7 separate regions of the Homo sapiens genome follow, and regions 2, 3, 4, 5, 6 and 7 are each linked to region 1. Evidence: promoter capture Hi-C in 16 types of primary human blood cells and fetal thymus (Javierre and others, 2016). All regions are on one chromosome and are shown on one strand. Each heading gives the region's core, a stretch centred on a gene start or on the middle of the fragment in contact. The rest is flanking DNA. Distances are from core to core; before and after follow the strand shown. Region 1 holds the start of TMEM263-DT (TMEM263 divergent transcript). Region 2 overlaps PRDM4 (PR/SET domain 4). Region 3 has its middle 28 kb from the start of CKAP4. Region 4 overlaps CKAP4 (cytoskeleton associated protein 4). Region 5 overlaps LOC124903008 (a long non-coding RNA gene). Region 6 has its middle 21 kb from the start of CKAP4. Region 7 has its middle 8.2 kb from the start of TCP11L2.

Region 1 (3,061 bases), core at 218-2,717:
TAAACCCTTCCGGGTGGCCCCTTCTCTCCCTACTGATCCCTTTAGGCACTAGCAAATCTTTTTTTTTTCTTTAGCAGTGAGTGACGTGGCAGGAGGCAGAAAATGACCCTGGAGGCGCCGTGGCTAGCACTGAGCTTGGCACCTCCTCCCTCCGCTCCACGTTGTACACCCAGCACTCCCCCCACTCCCGAAGGGCTCCAGAATTTCTATGTAAGAAGGGTTTAGGACAGGCGATCTGATTGGAAGTGGGAGCTGGGGGGTCGGTCTTGAAGCTGCGTGTGCAGAGCAGGCAGTTTTTATTTAGACTGGGAGGCAGTGACGGCACGGATGGGTGCTCCAGCCCTCCCTGTCACCCCTGGGCGCGGCCAGCACCCTCTCCATTCCCACTTTTACTTTAGGTTAGGCGTGGAGATACAGCCTTCCTACCCAGGAAGAGCTATGGGGGTGTCCACTGGGAAAAAGTCTTGTGTGCCTGAACCCAAAAGGGAGGTTTAGCAACAGGTCAGGAGTTGGCAGGGCGAGGAAGCCCGGTACCCAAGCCCCTCCGCTGCATCCCTCTCCCAGGCTGCTGATGCCCCTCACCTTCCTCCTCCGCCCCCAACCCCGAACCCCCAGATGCTAAGAAGTCAGGCGGAGGCTTTCCAGGGGTGCGCAAGCTCCAATCGCGGCGGGGCAGTCAGCGACGTATAAGGAGGAGTAGCCCCAGAAGCGAACCTCCATCCGCCCCCAACTTCGTCCCGCCCCTCCCCCTTTCCCGCTGGGGCCTCGCCAAGGCCCCGCTGGGCAGCCAGGCCGGGCACTGGGAGGTGAGGGGCAGGGGCGCCGACGGCAGAGGGCGACGGAGGAGGGCAGGAAGCCGGGACTGCGCCCCTGCCCTCGCATCCCGACTCACTCACCGCCGGGGTCGCGGCCAGCGCTAGGGCTGGGGCCGGGCGGAGTGAGCGGGCCGGCGCAGAGGAGAGCTGAGGCGGCCTGGGCGGCAGCGGCGGCCGGCACAACCCCGGGCAGTCGCGGCTCCAGAGGCGTCCTCTCAGGATGTGGAGCTGGAAGACTGTGGCGGCGGTGGTGGAGGCGGAGGCCTCTGGCTGCGGACGTGGCGCCCGACGCGACCCGCCCCCTCCGCCGCCTCCTCAGCTCCCGCCTCCTCCCGCGGCTCCAGTTCCGACGCGCACGCGCGCTCGTGCAGCCCGGGCCCCTCCCGCGCCCACCGGGCACACGCCCACCCGTTCTCGCAGGGTCCGGCCCTCCCAGCAGTCCCCAGCCGGCTGTGTCCCAATTGCGCACGCGCGACGCTCCGAGGCCCGCTCCCGCCCCTTCGCCCCCTGGACGCCTCCGTGGGAACCCCCGGCCGGCCTGCGCGCCCCTCCTCCGGGGGTCTCCCCGCCTTCTTCCCGCCACCATCCAATCAAATCGGGCGAGGGGCGCGAAGCCCGGGAGACGCGTAGGCCGCGGCCCCCAGGCCCGGTGTTTTGACGTCGGCGGTGCCCGCGTTCCGCGCCGAGTAACGGTCTTCGGAATTCAGAGCCTTCGCCTTAGGGAAGGTGGGACGGTCGCCAGTTTCTCCAGCACTTTCTTCGTCCAGGGACGTCAACCTCCCTTGCATGCTGTCCTCAGGGACTGACAGCGGGGCCTGCTCAGAAGTTCTCGTCGGGACTCTCTACAGGCCTTTGTGATTAAGTGCTAGGGGTGAGGAGAGACGTGGCTTATTTATGTGTTTTTCAGTTTGTTATGATTTTTTTTTTTTTAATTTTACTTCTCCCTGCCCTAGAATTGAGCTCCTTGAGAGTAAAAACCCGCCTGGGTCGCCATCACCCTAGGCTTGGTGCAGGGCCTGCCAGGCGCTCGAATTTGTTGAAGAGGTGGGTGTTCAGTATCGAAAGAGCCGCGGATTGTACATTAGAAAGCCTGGCTTTGCGCCGCGTCCTTGCCACTTGCTGACCAGGCCCCTCCACGTGGTCCCCGCCGGGGCAGCAGCTCTCCTCACCCGTCCAAAGGCACGGGGAGGCGCGTGGCGGCCCCGCCAGAGCTGAGCCCCCTGGGATGTGAGGCCGTCTCGCTCTGAGCTTCAGAGCAGGGTTGCAGGAGACACCTCAGAAGGTCGTTTTGAGGACGGGAGGAGATGAACTGCTCAAAGCCTGCTTAACTAGATAAATGGTATCGATTAACTTTTCTTTGACTCCCTTTCCACACCTATAAAATGAAGATGACGGGAAACTTGTCATACTTTTTTTGTGGTGGGTGGGAAAGGTCTTTATGAACTGTGAAGTCCTATGCAAACGTGAGATGTTTCCTTTCGCAATCTGATTAGCGAAGCAAAAACACGCGAGTCAAAAACATACACAGAAAGCAAAAAAAAAAAATTCACAAAATGGTTTATCAACTGCAGAATATTCAGGATGGTGGAACTGAATGGTAACTACTGACAACATAGCTCAGAAAGGACGTGCTAAAACATGCTGGATGAAGCTAACTTTGATCCAGGTCTTAAATGGAATGGACTATAGTTTATAGCTTCAACCTAATCATTAACTTATGAAATCAGAGAATTAAGGCCACTTAAGCCACTGTGCTCAGACTGTCAAGATATTTAGTTTCTCAAAGCAGAAAGAGGAAATTAAATACTCTTGTCAATTCAACATATGGGTTGGATGATTAGCAGGATCCGTGGATTGTTGTTTATCCAGTATGTGAAGAAACGGATATCCTCTGTTTTCTCGTTATTACACAAACTTCTATCCTTAATATGTGACCTTTCAAGGTTGAACTCTAGGTAAAATTATGAAGTGCACAATTACGTCTTGTTTCTTCTTCCCTTTGCACGTCGTTTTACAAGAGAATCTAATTATTATTAAAGTACAAATGACTGACAAGATTGTAGCCACTCCTGGGAGATTTTGCATTTTTACGGTTATTAAAAGCCATAACTCAAAGCAGCAGTTGAATCTGTTTCATAAACTAACTAAGATTTAAAAGAGCTCCTTTGGGAGGTCATGAGTTCATCAGAAACTTCTGGTGTAGGAGTTCAGCCTATAAAACAAACAAATACATGACTTGTAGTATT
Region 2 (3,061 bases), core at 406-2,905, 800 kb before region 1:
TTCTTCACCTTGCCAAAAATAGTCTGTAGTTAAAAAAAAAGTTTGGTGCAGTTAAAAAAAAGTTTGGTGCAATGAAAAACTTTTTGGCAGTGTTTTGCAGTTTGATCTGTGATCTTTCACTTAATAGCTATGTGATTTGGGGCATATGACATGGCCTCTCTGAGCCATAGTTCCCTCATCTATCTTACGTTGCAGTATTGGTGTGAGGATTTGAAGTCATTTTAAGTGAAGTGGTAGCAAAGCTTACATAATGACCCTCAATATTTGGAGGACATTAATATACTGATACAGAATCTTAGTAAACTGTTGCTGAATGGGGAAAATACGATGCTTTTCACATCATCGATAATCTGGATCTTTAACTCCTATTAAAAATGATTAGTAAAATTTACTTGAGTAGGTTAAAATGCGCTGCCTAAAACACTACTGGTTTGAAATAATAAGCCATTTGGAGAAAAATAAATATTATAAAAGATGAAGCTTGAGTGATTTAAAAAAAAACTGTCATTGCCATTGTGCTCTAAGAATTGCAGACTTTGCTTTAGATGGTGTGCCTAGAGTTTCGAACAAGGCAGAATTCAAATCCTATTTCTGCTATGTGACATTGAATTGAGTTTTTAATGTCTCAATCTCAGTTTTCTTATCAGTAGAAAGAATATGGCACTAGCTATCTAAGAGAATTGTTGAGCGTAAAAGTGAACTAATAGTTGGCCAAGTCCCATTTCCCCATCCCCACTGTTTCAGTTTCTTCAGTATCTTAATACAGAGTCATTGGAGTAAATTTTTGCATAACTAGTTGTGTGTGCTCTTTTCTAGGATGAATGAAATGAACCTGAGTCCAGTGGGGATGGAGCAGCTGACTTCATCCTCTGTGAGCAATGCCTTGCCAGTCTCAGGAAGTCACCTGGGATTGGCTGCCTCACCCACTCACAGTGCCATCCCTGCCCCAGGTGAGTGGTAAGGGAGACCTACTGCATTTCAACACTTAACTCTGTTATCAATTCTAAATGGAGTCTAGAAGAGATCAGAGCCCCTTTAAGGGTAGAAGGTAGAAGGGAGAAGGTAAGCAGGCCTGAATGGTGGTTCAACATGTGATAGGTAATGGAAAATAAGGTTTTTGTAGAGGTAGAGTATTAGAATTCTAGTGGATAGTAGCAGCAATTTTTTCTGATAGTCCTCTTCTGAGTTGGTAGCTTTTTGTCCAGAGCTGTAATTAACTTGGCATTTTATTTAGGGCTGCCCATTCATCTGGTTCACACTTCAGTACCCGTTCCCTGGGTTAATAGAAGAGAATCAGTTAAAATTACTCTAATAACTATTCCCAGAGAGCATGGGGAATTGGGCTTTATATTCCACCAGGTTTGAAATTAAATGGCAATAACTGCAAGTGTACCAGGTCTAGAATTAATGTGGAAAGAAGTGTGGTACTTTTACCTGGGGCTTTTACATGGAACGCCTCATGAGCCTCCATACACAGCAAAATCGTATAGGAAAAATTCATTCTTCCTATCCTTTTTTTTTTGAAATGGAGTCTCACTCTGTCATCCAGGCTGGAGTGCAGGGGCACGATCTCGGCTCACTGCAACCTCCGCCTCCCGGGTTCAAGTGATTCTCCTGCTTCAGCCTCCTGAGTAGCTAGGATTATAGGCATGCACCCCTACACCTGGCTCATTTTCTTTTTTTTCTTTTTTGAGATGGAGTTTCGCTCTTGTCGACCAAGGTGGAGTGCAATGGCACGATCTCGGCTCACTGCAACCTCCGCCCGCCTCCCGGGTTCAAGCAATTCTCCTGCCTCAGCATCCCGAGTAGCTGAGACTACAGGCACACGCCACCATGCTCAACTAATTTTTTGTATTTTTAGTAGAAACGGGGTTTCACCATATTAGCCAGGCTGGTCTCGAACTCCTGCCCTCAGGTGATCCGCCCTCCTCGGCCTCCCAGAGTGCTGGGATTTTAGGTGTGAGCCACCGCGCCAGCCGTCACTGTACTTTTAAAACCTTTTTTCTGCCTAGCTTCATTTTCTTATTCTATTGAAATAGAATATAAATGGAATAAATATTCTATTGATTATTACAATGATAAGCTGTCAGTTCTTTAGGATCAATGACATTGTTATGTATTGGACTTTCTTTGTCACAGTAGGAGTTAGTATAAATAAATCTATATATTGTTTAAATAGTTCTCTAAAGAGAATTACTTGCTTAATTAATAAAATGCAGCAGTTAAATAAGATTCATTGAAACTAGGGTCTCTTCACATTTGTTTAAGTGTCCACAAAAGAAATCTTAAAAAATTATTAGTGGTTAACCCACTTGATTGTTTGTAGGCATTCCCTTTAGTGGACACTCTTGTTAAGGTGGAAAAGCCTGTTAAAAAATATTGCCAGCCAGGCACAGTGGCTCACGCCTATAATCCCAGCATTTTGAGAGGCCAAGGCAGGAGGATCACTTGAGCCCAGGAGTTCAAGATCAGCCTAGGTAACATAAGGAGACCCCATCTCTACAAAGAAAAAAAAAAAAATTAGCAGCGCATGGTGGCACACACCCGTAGTCCCAGCTACGTAGGAGCTACATAGGAGGCTGAGAAGGGATGGCCACTTGAGCCAGGAAAGCTCAGGTTGCCTGAGCCATGGTCATGCTACTACGCTCCAACCTGGGCAACATAGCAAAACCTTGTCTCAAAAAAAAAAAATATTGCCCCTGGCAAAAATATGCAAATCAGCACTGACCAAGTTGGTGGGTATTTATTATGATACTTAGCCCAGTAAAAGTCACTTCACTTTGCAAGTACATATAACTCAAAGTAGATATAATCTCACGTTTAAAGCTTTTATTAATCACTAAGTGTAGCATATATACAAAAGATTGTATGAAGGTGTACATGTACAGTTTTACATCTAACTAAACTACGTTGTTTTCCAGGTAGAAATGAAATATTCTCACCATATAAAATGGTAAATACAATAAAGTTTAAAAATACCAAAAAAATTTCATACTATCACTACCTAGGGACTACTCCTATGAACATTTTATGTTTCCATTGTTTTTTTCTCTATATAATT
Region 3 (3,061 bases), core at 283-2,782, 740 kb after region 1:
CCTTTCTGATGACCACTTCCTCTTGGGAGCTGTGCAGGCTTCTTTTCCTCCACCAGTCCTAAGGGCTTGGTCGTGAGCCACTGGATATCCTTCCAAGGCTTGCTTAAAGATCTTTCAGTGGACTCTCCATCATTAAAACACCCTTTCTATTTTAGGGAGGGGGCACAGATGTTATCTCTTCTAGTTCTTAGCCAATTACATACTCTCAGACTAGAGCTCTGAATCTTTGTGGCACATAGGTGCACATGTACCCTAAAACTAGGTTTTCTATGTAGAAAGATAATAAAACTATACTTGAGTCTCCAAAAAAAAAAGAATTATTTACACTGAAACTGAAGAAACTGAGCATTCAGGGTTGAGGTGGCAAATGTTCAGGAGTGTTTTGTGTTGATTGCAACAAAAACCCATGAGTGGTACAAACTTATTACATTCACTGTGCTCCAAATGAGCTCATTGACCACTCCTCTGAAACCTCCTCCTTCTCCATTGAACCATATCGGAGTAAATGGCTTTTCCATCTATCTAATTTCTCATGTCAGAAGCATGAGTCCTTGTGCCTCCCTCTCCCTTAGTGTCCACAGCTGGTCATCGTATTGATGCATCTCTATAAATATCTCCCGGGAACTTTTCCTGATTTCCACTGCCATGACTCTTGTCCAAACCATCATTCTGTCTTTCCCAGACTCTCGTAATTGCCTCTTAACCAGTGTCTGTGCTTCTCCCAGTCCACCCGTCACACAGAAGCCGGAGTGATGTTTCAACAGGACAAATTTACTTACGGTCATTTGCCACTTAATGACATTTCAGTCTGTGATGAACTGCATATACGATGTTGATCCTGCAGGATTATAATACCATATTTTTACTGTCCCTTTTCTATGTTTACATATGTTGATACAGAAATACTTCCCATTCTGTTACAATTGCCTACAGTATTCAGGACAGTCCCATGCTGTATAGGTTGCAGTCTAGGAGCAATGGGCCATAACATATAGCCTGGGTGTGTAGTAGGCTATGCTGTCTAGGTTTGTGTATGAACTCTGTGATATTCTCACAATGACAAAATCACCTAACCACACATCACATTTCTCAGGATTTGTCTCCATTGTTAAGTGATACACGACTGTGTATCATTCCTTTGTTTACAGTCTGGCTTGTGTTGCTCTGACGGTAAAGTTAAAAATCACATTGCAGTCCCTCAGTTTTCACTAGAAGCACTTTCAGTTCCCCACCAATGCAAAACTGCTTACCACCTTGGCATCTTGGCACAACCTAGTCCCTCTGCCTAGAATGCCCTTCCTATTACCCACCTTCACTTGGCTAACACCAGGTCATCTTTTTGATCTCAGCTGAAATGCTGCATGTGAATAAGGCTTCCTTGCCTCTCCAGGCTAAGTCAGGTTTTTCTAATACGTGGCCTGCTGGCATTCTGGATTTCTCTATCTCAGCTCTCATCAAAATTGCAATTAATTATTACTATATTTCCTTGACTTTCTGATATGTGTATATGTTTCTAAACACCTAACATCTCTGAAGTTGGGATGCATCTTATAATTGAAGGCATCTCAGAAGTATCATTGGTAGTGTTTTTTTTAGTGGCATATAAACTAATGGTGCAATTTATGAGCAATGGCATCTTAGATTTGATGAACTGTGGTAATTATATAGTTACGTGTTTGCCTAGTTCATCTACTAGGCTGTAAGTTGTGTCTGTCTTGATGAGAGCTCTATCCCCAGCACTACTATAGTGCCTTGCACATAGCAAGCACCCAGTAAAGATTTGTGTGTGTATATATACATATATATACATTATATATATGTAACACAGACGAGTGTATGCCAGAAAATTCCCTAAGAAAATAAATGAAAAACTCATATTTTGACTTCTACTTCTGGCCAAGGTGGAATAACAGCAGGGGATTTACCCACTCTTCTGAAAAAAGTAAGAAATTGGATCAAATATATGAAACAATGATTCTCAAGATACTGATCACTAGGCAATGAAGGACAGCGATCTTTGAGAGAAGAGAAGCAAATGAAATGAGTGCTATAGCTGCCCTAGCTTGTTGCCTGGAGAGGAATATGTTGCCCAACTGAGGAGAGTTGGGCAACCCAGGCTGTGGTGCAGGGAGGGAGATCCCAGGTGGATTCTGGCAGTCTCCCTGAGTTGAAGAGGCAAAGCCAGGAGCCTGGTGAGGCCAACATGGCTAGAGGTTACAGGACAGAGAACTGCAGAGGAGATAGAACTCTGAGATCTGCAGATGGTCTCCCTCCAATCTTCAATAGAGTACCCATCAGCACATGTGTTTTAGAAAACTATCCAAGGCTGGAGAAAGAATGACTTAAAAGGATGAGAGTCTGGGCGCAGTGGCTCACGCCTGTAATCCCAGCACTTTGGGAGGCTGAGGTGGGCAGATCACTTGAAGTGAGGAGTTCAAGACCAGCCTGGCCAACATGGTGAGACCCTGTCTCTACTAAAAATACAAAAATTAGCCAGGCATGATGGCATGCACCTGTAATCCCAGCTACTCGAGAGGCTGAGGCAAGAGAATCACCTGAATGCGGGAGGCAGAGGTTGCAGTGAGCCAAGATCGCACTGCTGCACTCCAGCCTGGGTGATAGAGTGAAACTCTATCTCAAAAACAAACAAACAAACAAACAAAGAACGAAAGGCCATAATTCTCAGAGCTCACATAGGGTTAGGATTCTGTTCCCACCAGTAAAAGTGAAAACCTCAAAACCTCATACTTCACAGTACATTAGGCAGAGGACTCAGATGTAGGGAAAATTAGCCTCAAACAAAACTGCTCTGGTCCTGCTCAATAAAGTTTAACAGCAAGACTTGAAAACATCATACTGTCTCCGGGTAACTTCACACTGTCCAAGAACAAAGTTCGAGAATATTTATAATAATACAAAAACTGTACAAAATTTTACCCAAAAAGGTAAATTTCACAATGTTAGGCTGATGCAAAACATCAGCAAAATGCAACCCATAATGAAGAGAAAATTCAATCAATTAGAACTGACCTAGGAGTGACACAGATGTTAAGAGCTATAG
Region 4 (3,061 bases), core at 396-2,895, 720 kb after region 1:
AATGAACTGTATGGCTTATTTACAGTATTTTTAATTCTTAATAAACACTTGAGCTTTGTTATGACTTTTCCAGAGTGGTTACATTCTGAGAATTTCGTAATTATGATGTGTTTTATTAGCACATGGTATAAACGATTAGCAAATAGGTAAGTTTACTATTTTAAGGCTGTTTTTTCTTTTAATTCTGAAACCGAGATGGCCTCACTCTTGGGCCGGGGACCTCCTTTGATGGACTGTTAGCAAGTGTGTTCAATGATTACTTGTCTCCAGCTCTGTTAGCTTCAAGCACAGGATCTCAACCCTCACTACCTATTAGAATCTTCCTAGGAGCTTTTAAAAAATGCCTGGGCCCTGCCCGCACAGATGCTGATTGAATAGGCATAAAGAGGCTGGCACTGTTTTTTTTTTTTTTTTTTTTGAGACAGAGTCTCGCTCTGTCACCCAGGCTGGAGTGCAGTAGCAGGATCTTGGCTCACTGCAAGCTCCGCCTCCCGGGTTCTGGCCATTCTCTTGCCTCAGCCTCCTGGGTAGCTGGGACTACAGGCGCTTGCCACCACGCCCGGCTAATTTTTTGTATTTTTAGTAGAGACAGGGTTTCACCGTATTAGCCAGGATGGTCTCAATCTCCTGACCTCGTGATCTGCCCGCCTCGACCTCCCAAAGTGCTGGGATTACAGGTGTGAGCCGCCATGCCTGGCCAGCACTGGTATTTTAAAGGCTCCCTCTCTGATTTTAATGTCCAGTCAGGGTTGAGAACCAGTGTCTCAGACCATCTGAGTGACCTTCAGCCCTAGTGCACACCTGGGCTTGTTTCCTTCTCTGGATTGCCTTCCACCCTCCACCCAATAAAAACCACATGCTGTTTATTGAGTACCTGTGTGCCAGGTCTTGTGCTCAGCATGCATAATAACCTGTTATTCCTTCTTACAGTCCCCCGAGGTAGGCAGTATCATTTCCCATTTCACAGAGGAACAGCAGGCTGAGAAGCTTCATACAAGGTCATTCATTACGAAGTGGCAGGGCTAAGCTTTGGACCTCATCCTTGCTCTAACTGGGACAGCATCCTCTACCGTCCACTGACACCAGTGCAGGTCCATTTGGCCTGTGGAATATCTGTCCTGTTCCAGAGCCCAAGGCTGCAAGAGATTTCTTCTTTCCCACCTAGGGAGTAGAGGGTGGCTAGGACCTGAGGTCCTGTGGCTTGATGTCCCCCTTTCTGGCTGAAAGGCCCCTCATCTCTGAATTGCTGTCAGTCACTCTGGGTCCCTCAAAGCTTCACAACTCAGAGCTGGAAGTTTTTTCCAAAGCAGTTAGCAAATCAGGACAGGCTCTGTAAATAATTTCTATTTTTATTTCAAAACCATTTTACTTTTTATTTTAAAGTCTTAAGTATTGACATGTATGCTTTAAATGGCTACTTTCACCCACTTGGGGAGGGTGCGGAACAGCATAAAGTCGCAGGCATGGAAAAAATTAAATTCATTTCCTTTTCAGGCCAATTGGTTGCATTGAGTATGTTCTTGCTGTTTCTCCTGTCATTTCTGCAGTTGCTCATCTCTGACTATGGAGTGGTTTAATAGATTCTCATTAATATTATAAAAGAAAATATTGACAAGTGTCTGATAAATATAAATTCAAGTGGTGAAAATAAAAGGAATATATTAGGAATTCACATATTTCTGATGGTGGGGCAGTTAGAGTTCTTACACCAAATAATGCAGCTCAGTCTTGTTTCTTCATTCAATATAGTGTTCATTCATTCAATAAACATTTATTGGGCTGATAGCCAGCCATTTTGCTAAGTATCAGTGAATTAAAATGTACAGGACTAGCCCAGTGGGAATGACAGTCATGTAAAGTGGTAGGTATTAGAAATACAGGTGCCATACTTGGGTGTATTGGGCCAAGAGGAAGGAGTGACCATTGTGCCATGGTTGGTCTAGAGGTGGTTAGAACAGGTTTTTGAAGGGCTGGGGGAAGTCCCTTGGAATGCTTTCATGAGTAATGGGAAGCTTCGGGAAACAGGTTGTTTTGCCCTTTGAACAAACAATATACACAAATTACTGAACATGTTGGTTAAATTGCAGATCCAGCACCAGGATAAGAGGCTGCAGTGAAACTTCTCAGGCAGGACTGACAGCACCCTGGTGAGGAGACTACTACACCACTGACCATGTGGCCTTGGGCAAGTCACTTAGAATGGTGATGGTGTTGATAATAGAGATGATGGTGGAGATGGAGATGATGATGGTGGTGATGAAGATGATGTGATGGTACAGGGTGGTTGTCAGGACTGAATGAGCGTGTTGAGGGGTTAGCACAGAATCTGGCACATCATAAGTGCTTCAGTGATCATGCGTGCATGGATCATACCAGAGGTTAAAATGTTGAAATACTGTTGTCCTAGTTGGTGAATAGCTTCTGCCCTGAACCCCCTGCATGTCCTCTCTCTGGACCACTATACCTCTTTACAATCCAGCAACTAATAGGTTAATATTCTAGTATAGCAGAGACCACAAGACTCTGCTCCAGCCCCAGGGCCTGCATTTGTTCTGATGGGTGGGTGCCCATCAGATTAAATATTTTGAAGTTATCCTTCCTTGTGAGCTCAATAATTTGTGTGTGGGTAAGATTTGTTTCAAAGAAGTGACTATATAATGAGGTGGTAAAACTTGAACCCAGTTCTAAAAGATAGGTAGGGTTGTCAGGTACCAGGCAAAAGGTACTGGGTTTGAAGTAGTCAGGAGAGTTGAGAGGCTGAGCACAGTTCTTGCAGTTGGAATAGAGAAAGCACAGGTGGGGAGTCGGGTGGAGATGGGGTAGGAGGGCTAATGGGGCCAGGACCTGGAGGCCTTGCATGTCATCCCTGAGAGTTTGGATCTGAACTATGAGGAATAAACAAAAGGGTTTAAGTGGGGCAGGGGAAGTAACCATGGTCAGAACTGGGTTCTAGAGTGCCCCCGCATTGGCAGGATTGGAGGAGAGCAAGGGGAGGGCAGGTGGACATTGGGAAGTCGTGGTCCAGGCTGGGTCCGATGTGCCCTGAGGATGAGGGTTGTAG
Region 5 (3,061 bases), core at 226-2,725, 700 kb after region 1:
TAACAACTGGGACTCACTAAGGTGAAGTATTTTGCTCAAGGTCACGTAAGTGGCAAGAACCAAGATTTGAACTAGCTCTCCCTGATTCTACAGAATATAACCCTATAACAAAGCCAAGTTCACAGAAACTCTGGTCTTGGCTTCCTTAGACCCAGGTTCCAACCAACCTCTCAGCTGCAAGGGCTTTACCATTGACCATCAAGGGTTATACTGATGGCTCCCACTCAAACTAAACAAGGTCCCTCTTTTCTACAGGAGTGAAACTTGTGCACAGGAAGGCTTCCCTTCCTCCAGAGAGAACACTGGAGGCCACTCACCTTCCAGACCACCAAATTTAACATCACTCATGCCAGCTGGAGGAGGCCCCAGATCCCTCTGGCCAGTGAAGTTTTGGTTGGTGAGTGAAATTCGAACTCATTAACTTGAAAATGAATGAGCTTCAGTGACTGTTAAGGCACCTCGGACTGAGATGTCTGATTTCCATTCCAACTCTGGGTGCGAAGCTTTCTCCATCCTTAGCCACCCAGTGATCACTATTTACCCATTTCAGCACTGGCTGGGCCTGCTAGGATTGTAAGCAGCTAAATGGTGCCTAACAGCACGGGCTCTGGTCAGTCCACCTGGGTTCAAATCCTGGTTCTATCACTTAATAGCTGCAGGAACTAGGACAGGTTTCTTAACTGTTCTATGCTTCTCTTCTGTTTTATCATCTGTAAAACGTGGAGAAGAGTAAGTCCTTCATAGGGTTGTTGTGAAGTTTAAAAGATATAATGGGTGCACCACAATCTCAGAAATCACCACTAAAGAACTTAGTGATAACCAAACACCACCTGTTACCCAAAAACCTATGGAAATAAAAAATAAAAAATATATGCAGAGTGCTTAGTACAATGACCACACATAAGCAAGACCCAACAAAAGTTTGCTATTAATTTTAATATTATTTTATTAGGCTTTTATTTTGTGCCGGGAGCAGTTGCTCACGCCTGTAATGCCAGCACTTTGGAAGGCTGATGCAGGAGGATCACATGAGGCCAGGAGTTCAAGACCAGCCTGGCTAACATGGTGTAACCCCATCTCTATTAAAAATACAAAAAATTGAGCCGGGTGTGGTGGCACAGGCCTGTAATCTCAGCTACTCAGGAGGCTGAGGCAGGAGAATCACTTGAACCCAGAAGGCAGAGGTTGCAGTGAGCTGAGATCGTGCCATTGCACTCCAGCCTGGGTGACAGAGCGAGACCCTGTCTCCAAAAAGAAAACAAAAAACAAAAAACCCCAAAAAGACTTTATTTTGTGCTCATTGTAGTGGTCATCATTCTTGTCGAGACTTCACTGCTTTGTGTATAGCATCAAACTGTGCCCCACAGAAAGGGATACAAGTAAATAATTGTTTAGCACCCTGTAGTTTACAAAATATTTTCATGGGCATTATCAACTGATACCACCTGAGGATATGGATGTGTTAGCCAAAATTTAAAGGAGGGTGTAGCGTTAGCTCATATCATACAGTCAATTTAATGAAGTGGCATCAAAATGTAAAACCATTTCATGTTCACAATATGAACAGTAGGCCTTCCTTATCCCGTCCCCCATGCCATCTCTGGGTCTTACCCATCCCTCAAGTTCACATTAGAAGGGCAGGGATGCTACTGAGCACTTATCTTAGGACTGCAAAAACAAGTAGAAATGTGTTTATGCATTCATTTATTGATTGCGACAGAGCAAGACCATCCCTACTATCACCATTGTCATCATCACCATCACCATTTCTATCATAATCACCACCATCATCCTCCTCCTCCTCATCATGTCCAGTGTAAGCTGGAGTGTAGTGGCGTGATCTCGGCTTACTGCAACCTCCGCCTCCTGGATTCAAGCGATTCTCCTGCTTCTGCCTCCCGAGTAGCTGGAATTACAGGTGTGTGCCACCACACCCAGCTAATGTTTTGTATTTTTAGTAGAGGCGGGGTTTCTCCATGTTGGCCAGGCTGATCTCGAACTCCTGACCTCAGGTGATCCACCTCTCTCAGCGTCCCGAAGTGCTGGAATTACAGGTGTGAGCCACTGTGCTTGGTCTATTTTTAAAGTAGTATCAAAATGTGCCCACATGAAAATGTCACATACTCATTCCTCAACCAAGAGGTGCCCCAGCTGGGCCCTTCCTCTTCTGCATGGACTTACAATATCTGGAGGTAGGCAGCTCCTGAGGATGTGCACCCCTGAGGCTGGGAAAGGTGGTCCTAGCTCTCCAGAGTCAAACTATAAAGAATGGCCCCCATCCCTAACACGTACTCAATTTGCAGGGCATCCAGGCTCATGCCTTGGCCACTGGGGGCCTTGCCAACCTGGAACAGACAAGAGGCAATCAACATTAACAGAGGCTTTCTATTTAGGCATTCTAACCAACATGCAAAAAGCCAAGAGGGCTGCAGGCTTACAAAGCTTGACCTTATAATTTATGGTGCATGTGGTATGAGGGAGTTCTGAGGCATTTTTACACAAGCTGGATGAAAGGATGAGATGTCTCCAGCTCCCCCTCTTCTCCGCCCACATTCCTGACCATCCAACACACTTTAGCAAGGAAAAGGGATAGAGGAAACAAAACTAGGAGGAAAAGCAGAAGAGAAACTCCTCTAGATTCATGCTGTGCTCAGAAACTGGGGTAGGAGAATGGAAGTCTCCAGGAAGAGCTGTTGATCCCTTCCTGCTCTGGAAGATGCACTTCTATGACTGCCCACCAGCCTCCTCCTCTGGGTGTAACCGAACACCATGGTGGAGCCACACTTCAGAGAAACACACTGCTTGCTTTTAACGTTAAACACATCCTAGCCTGTGGTTTGTGAGCCACATATGGTCCTGGGAGCCCCACGAAATAATGATGAAAGAAAATCGTTGAAATCTGGACACAGAAGCTCTCTGAAGCTATACTTTTCCTCAGTGACTCTGCAAATTGTATTAGCTGTCCAATATTCACTGAGCATTGCCATATGCCCAGTATCATATGGTGTCTCTTGTCTAATCCGCATAACAGCAAGGTTGTTCTTTTTTTTTGGGTGGAGTG
Region 6 (3,061 bases), core at 418-2,917, 690 kb after region 1:
ACAGTGGAAGAAGAGCGCTTCTGCTTGATACACAGATCACAAAAGCACCCCTGGGTGATGGTGGGGCTTCAGCTGCAGAGGATGAACACATTGAGACAACTTGCAGCTGAACTGAAAGCCTCCTGAGAATGGAGGGTTCTTTTTTGCTCTGCTTTTACTGGACTCAGAGAAATAGATCAAGAGAGGATGGCTTTGTGTGTGTGTGTGTGTGTGTGTGTGTGTGTGTGTGTGTGTGATGGAATTTTGCTCTTGTGGCCCACGCTGGAGTGGAATGGCATGATCTCAGCTCACTGCAACCTCAGCCTCCTGGGTTCAAGTGATTCTCCAGCCTCAGCCTCCCCAGTAGCTGGGATTACAGGCTCCCACCACCACGCCTGGCTAATTTTTTGTAGTTTTAGTAGAGACGGGGTTTCACCATGTTGGCCAGGCTTGTCTCGAACTCCTGACCTCAGGTCATCCACTCGCCTCAGCCTCCCAAAGTGCTGGGATTACAGGCATGAGCCACCATGCCCTGCCGATGGCACTTTTTTCACTTGAAGAAAGAACGAGGAGACCTAGGCTTATTGAATCAAGAGGGTCTTAAGTTAGATAGTAATACTGACTTCCTCACTGTGAGAAAAGTACAGGATTATGTTACCTCACCAAGGAGTTTCCTTTCTAAGAGACTTGAAATCTCCTAGCTGGCAGAGGCTCAGAAGGAAGTTCCTTAGTGACTCTCAATCTCTTTCATGTACAGCAGGTCTTGAATAACGTCTTTTCATTCAATGTAGTATTGTTATAAAGTTGGTGAGAAAAAAAACAGTGGATTCCCAGCCGGGTCACTGTTTGTATGGAGTTTGCAGGCTCTCTCCATGTCTGCGTGGGTTTTCTCCAGGTACTTTGGTTTCCTCCCGAAGATGTGCAAGTCAGTTTCACTGGCATGTCTCAATGGTCCCAGTAAGAGTGAGTGTGGGCATCGGTGTGGGTGTGAGTGTGCCCTGTGATGGAACAGCATCCTGTCCAGGGTGGTTTCCAGTCTTGTGCCCTGAGCTGCTGGGAGAGGCTTCTGCCACCTACAACCTTGAACTGGAATAATTGGGTAAATAATTATCTTTCTTGTTTTTATTAATCTTTCTTAAATGTATGTGTAGCTCACAGGTATTTTAGTGTTTACTATGAGAAGTGTTTTGGTCTTTAGAAGTTTGGTGACACTTTTTTTTTTTTTTTTTGAGACCGAGTCTTGCTCTGTCACCCAGGCTGGAGTGCAGTGGCATGATCTCGGCTCACTGCAACCTCTGCCTCCCTGGTTCAAGCAATTCTCCTACCTTAGCTTCCCAAGTAGCGGGAACTACAGGCGTGTGCTAACACATCCAGCTAATTTTTGTATTTTCAGTAGAGATGGGGCTTCATGATGTTGGCTGGGCTGGTCTCAAACTCCTGACCTCAGGTAATCTGCCCGCCTTGGCCTCCCAAATTGCTGGGATTACAGGCTCAGATAAGCCACCACGCCTGGCCTGTTTGGTGATACTTTTGTGGCCAGAAATAGGGTGTAGAAACTTAAGTCGTGTTTATATCAATTAGCCTATGGTCAAATTGGTTTTGTTATATGTCATTTTGCTTAAAGTTGCAATTTCCAAGAACCTATGAACAGTGATAAGTGAGGACTTAAGCATACTAGATAAGTCTACTGAGTTATTGCAGTGTCACTGTGGTTGAAAGTTTCCTGGTGAGCTCTGGTTCCCTCGCTGTCAACTACCCCTCTTTTTGGCAGAATCCCTTCAGAGGTGAATCTGCATTTTAAACAGCAAGCTCCTCATTCTGGCTGCTGGGTCCTGCGTGATACTCCAAAGCCATGGAGATGCTGGGCCTGGTGCACTTGCCCTTCCCTCAAGGGATCCTGCTGGTCATGGACCTATACAATGAAGGGATCCAGGGGACTGATTGGAAGTCAGAATCCAAACACTAGACTCTCTATCATTTTGAAGGTAGAGGAATTAAACCAAAGAAATATACTACTGCATTTATATACAATTCTGGTATCACTTTAAGACCTGATGATTTTTTAGAGCAAAAAGTCCAATGTAAAGAAATAGTTTCCAATGCGGCTAAACCTCAAAGGATAACCAAGTGTTAATGGTTAGGGACACCAGCCTACACAGGGCAATGAGATTCAGTTTACTAAGCAGCTTCTGGGCTCTTACTAGGTGGCAGGTCTTGTGCTGGGTACTGGGTGATGGTGGTGGTGATGGGAGAGATACAGAGATAATAGTGATAATGACATTGATAATAACATCACATGTCCTGAGAGCTGATTACTTGCCGGGCATTGTGCTAATTTATTTGTTAATTTAATAAATAAACAGGGCAACATAAATACTTGCTGAATGAATTGTTTACTTGCACAAGCTCTCCTGGCCTCCTTTCTGTTTCTTGGATGCACCTCAGGGCCTTTGCATTTGCTCTTTTGTTCTGCCTGGAAAGCTCTTCTTCCATGTATTTGGTTGGCTGGCTCCTCACTCCTTCAGGTCTTTCCTCCAATGTCACCTTCTCAGTGAAGTCCTGACCACTTAATCTAAAATTATAACCCCTATCCCGATTCCAAACCCTTTCTGTTCCTATTTCTCCATTTCACTTTTTCCTCTTAGCACTTAGTACTACTGTATCTAGGATGCTGCCTTTAACTTTTTTTTTTTTTTTTTTGAGATGGATGGAATCTCACTCTGTTGCCTAGGCTGGAGTGCAGTGCCATGATCTCCAGAGTGCAGTGGCACAATCTTGGCTCACTGTAACCTCTGCCTCCTGGGTTCAAGCGATTCTCCTACCTCAGCCTCCCTAGTAGAGTAGCTGGGACTGCAGGTGCATGCTACCACACCTGGCTAATTTTAGTATTTTTAGTAGAGATAGGGTTTTCACCATGTTGCCCAGGCTGGCCTCGAACTCCTGCCCTCAGGTGATCCACCCCCGTCAGCTTCCCAAAGTGCTGGGATTACAGGCGTGAGCCACCACGCCCGGCCATGCTGACTTTTACTAATGTACTATTGTCTGTCTCTCTTGCTAGCCTGAGAGCTCCACGATGGTAGGG
Region 7 (3,061 bases), core at 310-2,809, 660 kb after region 1:
TTATCAGTAAATTCCCACAAAGCTCAGTATAGGCTGGGCGCAGTGGCTCATTCCTGTAATCCCAGCATTTTGGGAGGCCGAGGTGGGCGGATCAACTGAGGTCAGGAGTTCAAGACCAGCCTGGTCAGCATGGTGAAACCCCGTCTCTATTAAAAATACAAAAAATTAGCTGGGCGTGGTGGCGCACTCCTGTAGTCCCAGCTATTTGGGAGGCTGAGGCAGGAGAATCACTTGAACCCAGGAGGCAGAGGCTGCAGTGAGCCAAGATCACGCCACTACACTTTTGCCTGGGTGGCAGAGTGAAACTCAGTCTAAAAAAAAAAAAATGCTCGGTGTAACATAATTATACAAATAAATTTAATTTTAATGCTGAAGCTGAATTCTTTATTTAAAGGAAGACCTCTGTGATGATATGTGGACGTTTAAAAAAATGACTTTTTAAAAGTTACAAGCATTACGTAGATCAAAATTTTCAAAGAATTAATCAACTGAGGTACAAAATAATTGTATATAATGAGGAAATGTGGTATGGTGGAAAGAGGGTGGGCTTTGGGTTCAGACAGACCAGAGGGTTGACAGCCAAGTTCCACCACTCATTATACATATGTCCTTATCCTCACAGGTATAAAATGGGGATAATAATGTTGTGGGGGCCATTTGTCATTTTGGTGATCCAGCTTTCCGAATGGTATTTGAATTGTTATCATTTATTATAGAAGCCAGAGAGGGGATGATATGCTAATCCCATTAATACTTTACTACTGGAGCTGGAAAGGCATTCTGTCTTCCCAGACCCTGGTGGCTGTAGCATGGGCATGGGACCTACGCATGTTCTGTCAGATGCTGACCACCACAGGTAGATAGGGGTGATTCACAGAGCTACAGTGGTGGTGCCCAATGCTGATGACACCAGCTATGGCATCCTTAGCATGTTCTTAGCTATGCCTGGCTTCCTTTAGTTCTTTCCCAAGCTTGGTTCTTCAGTCTAAAATATGTTAGAGTCACTCGATAGCTAATTCCATGAGCTACCAAGACCCTCTGGTCTCAGTTCCATGAGCTACGAAGACCCTTCTGGTCTAGTCAGACTAAGGTGTATTATTTGCCACTAAGAACTTTGACTAGAACAAATACTCCATAACCTGTGGGAGAATTAAAAGAAATAATGTATATGAAGAGTTGAGCAGAGTGCCAGCGACATTGTATGGATCAGTAAACTGTAACTACTATTATTATACTCTTGTTATTTTAATGATTTAATATTTACAGTTTCGACAGGTCCTGGGCAACTTAAAGGTCTGTGACATGCGATAATTTAAAATTCTGCCAAGGAGCAAATTTGAATCTAATAAGTTGGTGGTACAGGAGCCATTTATTTACCTCACAAATGAGCCTAACACATCACCCAGTATTTATATATCAATGTGAGGATTACTATTCTCCACTCATTAGGCCAGTAAGTCAGATCCATTCAGGAAAATAATATAACTTTATATTGTGTTAAGAACAATGATCCAAAAACTTGGATAATTATCCAAACGTTATCCAAAGACTTGGAAATAGGCAAAAGGGATTACTGGATGTCCTTTTAGTAGGGTGCTGTGTAGTGCAGTGTAGTAGCAGACTCGTACAAGGATTCATGCATTATCTAGGACTGTGTACCTTTGTTGGACTTACTACTCGTTATTGGTTCAGATATTCCAGAACTTTGTAAAGGCAGATGTTACTTTATCAAAAACTGATAACAAGGGCCCAGTGTAGTGGCTCACGCCTGTCATCCCAACACTTTGGGAGGCCAAGATGGACAGGTTGCTTGAGGCTAGGAGTTGGCGACCAGCCTGGGCGACATAGAGAGATCCTGTATCTACAAAAAAAATACAAAACTTAGCTGGGCAGGGTGGCATGTGGCTGTAGTCCCAGCTAATCAGGAAGCTAAAGTGGGAGAGTCCCTTGAGCCCAGGAGTTCGAGGCTACAGTGAGCTATCATCATGGCACCTCAGTTTAGCCTGGGTGACAGAGACCCTATGTCAAAAAACCGAAAACCAAAACCCAAAACAAAACACCAAAAAATTGATAACAATGCAAATTATTCTTGTCCATTTCTAATACAAGTAAAATCTTTTCTGTTCTATAGAAAAGATAAAAGCTTACTATTTATTACCTTATAAGACATTAACCAATTTTGTGTCTAACCTAGTAATCTTATTGTAAGATTTTTAAAAATGCATTTCTTGATGGGATATATAAACCCCTATTTCTCAAATATTCCTTAAACCAACTTTACCATTTTACTGGCTAACTCTTTAATTGATGAAATAAATATTTTTTTAAGCCCGTGTTTGTTCTGTTTCATATAAGTCATGTTTTCAATTTGTTGAAAATTATACCTTGACAAATAGAAGTCAATCCAAGGGGCCACATAGAAGGAGCATGTAATCCAGAACTGACGACCCCCAGGTAGGCTTCCTAGAGAAAGGAGTAGCCAAGCAGATACATGTACAAGAAGTTCTCAAGTGATCTCAACAAAACAGATTCAGGCCCCTAAATCAGTATTTAGGTCAAATTCATTGTTGAAAAATAAGGCTGATATGAGCTTAACTGATAAGGAAGAAAATTGGAACTACTTAGCTAAAAATCTGGATTGGTTTAAACTGCTTCAGTGTTGCTTTTATAATTTTCAAAAACGGCAGCTCACTTTGGAACCACAGGTACCTGCGAACTGTGGGAAATTCACCATTCTTGCCAAATGAGGTGAGGAACTCAATTCACTTTCTAAATCTACATAGATGGTTCTGCGCCATTTCTTCAGGAGTCCAAAGCTGAACCATAAGCTTGATGTAGAGGGCATTGCAATGAGTGGCTTTCAGCCCACAGGTGGACTTTGAATTTGAATGCCACAAGCCCACCCCTCTTATATGTAGCCTACTTCATTCATTTACATGGTTCACCTAGCTCTTTAAGCATTTTTGCCATCTCCATGAAGAAAAGTAGGGCCCCAAGCATTGTTTTCACCCATGAAATCTGCTATGCATGACTAGATGCAAAAAAGCAGACTTCAGGAAAT

The links. The method cuts DNA at HindIII sites, captures the fragments that hold promoters and counts their contacts. A CHiCAGO score of 5 or more calls a contact.
Region 2: a contact is called between a fragment that was not itself captured here and the fragment with the promoter of TMEM263-DT in region 1, in 3 of 17 cell types (activated CD4 T cells, naive CD4 T cells and total CD8 T cells). The highest score is 6.0, in activated CD4 T cells.
Region 3: a fragment that was not itself captured here is called in contact with the fragment with the promoter of TMEM263-DT in region 1 in 5 of 17 cell types (activated CD4 T cells, naive B cells, naive CD8 T cells and 2 more); the score reaches 6.5 in activated CD4 T cells.
Region 4: a fragment that was not itself captured here is called in contact with the fragment with the promoter of TMEM263-DT in region 1 in 9 of 17 cell types (non-activated CD4 T cells, naive CD8 T cells, naive B cells and 6 more); the score reaches 12.5 in non-activated CD4 T cells.
Region 5: a contact is called between a fragment that was not itself captured here and the fragment with the promoter of TMEM263-DT in region 1, in 10 of 17 cell types (non-activated CD4 T cells, total CD8 T cells, activated CD4 T cells and 7 more). The highest score is 9.6, in non-activated CD4 T cells.
Region 6: a contact is called between a fragment that was not itself captured here and the fragment with the promoter of TMEM263-DT in region 1, in 1 of 17 cell types (naive CD8 T cells). The highest score is 5.1, in naive CD8 T cells.
Region 7: a contact is called between a fragment that was not itself captured here and the fragment with the promoter of TMEM263-DT in region 1, in 11 of 17 cell types (fetal thymus, total CD8 T cells, naive B cells and 8 more). The highest score is 13.0, in fetal thymus.

Annotation. Positions count from the first base shown.
Region 1 is chr12:106,953,901-106,956,961 of GRCh38, reverse strand. It overlaps TMEM263-DT (TMEM263 divergent transcript), which reads left to right and starts at 1,467. Exons shown (of 1, transcript NR_185933.1): 1 at 1,467-3,061. It overlaps TMEM263 (transmembrane protein 263), which reads right to left and starts at 1,055. Exons shown (of 4, transcript NM_152261.4): 1 at 897-1,055. RefSeq lists enhancers at 108-167, 1,097-1,391 and a silencer at 668-1,427. The HindIII fragment of the contact is 6,686 bases long and covers 1-3,061 here.
Region 2 is chr12:107,754,721-107,757,781 of GRCh38, reverse strand. It overlaps PRDM4 (PR/SET domain 4), which reads left to right. Exons shown (of 12, transcript NM_012406.4): 3 at 817-950. All of the region lies in intron 3 of PRDM4-AS1 (PRDM4 antisense RNA 1), which reads right to left. Among named protein-coding and RNA genes, the nearest start is that of PRDM4, 4.9 kb to the left of the region's middle. The HindIII fragment of the contact is 2,346 bases long and covers 483-2,828 here.
Region 3 is chr12:106,218,293-106,221,353 of GRCh38, reverse strand. No RefSeq gene overlaps it. Among named protein-coding and RNA genes, the nearest start is that of CKAP4, 28 kb to the left of the region's middle. The HindIII fragment of the contact is 8,757 bases long and covers 1-3,061 here.
Region 4 is chr12:106,234,884-106,237,944 of GRCh38, reverse strand. It overlaps CKAP4 (cytoskeleton associated protein 4), which reads left to right. Exons shown (of 2, transcript NM_006825.4): 2 at 1-64. Among named protein-coding and RNA genes, the nearest start is that of CKAP4, 12 kb to the left of the region's middle. The HindIII fragment of the contact is 739 bases long and covers 1,276-2,014 here.
Region 5 is chr12:106,251,414-106,254,474 of GRCh38, reverse strand. It overlaps LOC124903008 (a long non-coding RNA gene), which reads right to left. Exons shown (of 2, transcript XR_007063443.1): 2 at 1,688-3,061. Among named protein-coding and RNA genes, the nearest start is that of CKAP4, 4.9 kb to the right of the region's middle. The HindIII fragment of the contact is 1,939 bases long and covers 506-2,444 here.
Region 6 is chr12:106,267,983-106,271,043 of GRCh38, reverse strand. No RefSeq gene overlaps it. Among named protein-coding and RNA genes, the nearest start is that of CKAP4, 21 kb to the right of the region's middle. The HindIII fragment of the contact is 4,949 bases long and covers 1-3,061 here.
Region 7 is chr12:106,293,008-106,296,068 of GRCh38, reverse strand. No RefSeq gene overlaps it. Among named protein-coding and RNA genes, the nearest start is that of TCP11L2, 8.2 kb to the left of the region's middle. The HindIII fragment of the contact is 1,172 bases long and covers 974-2,145 here.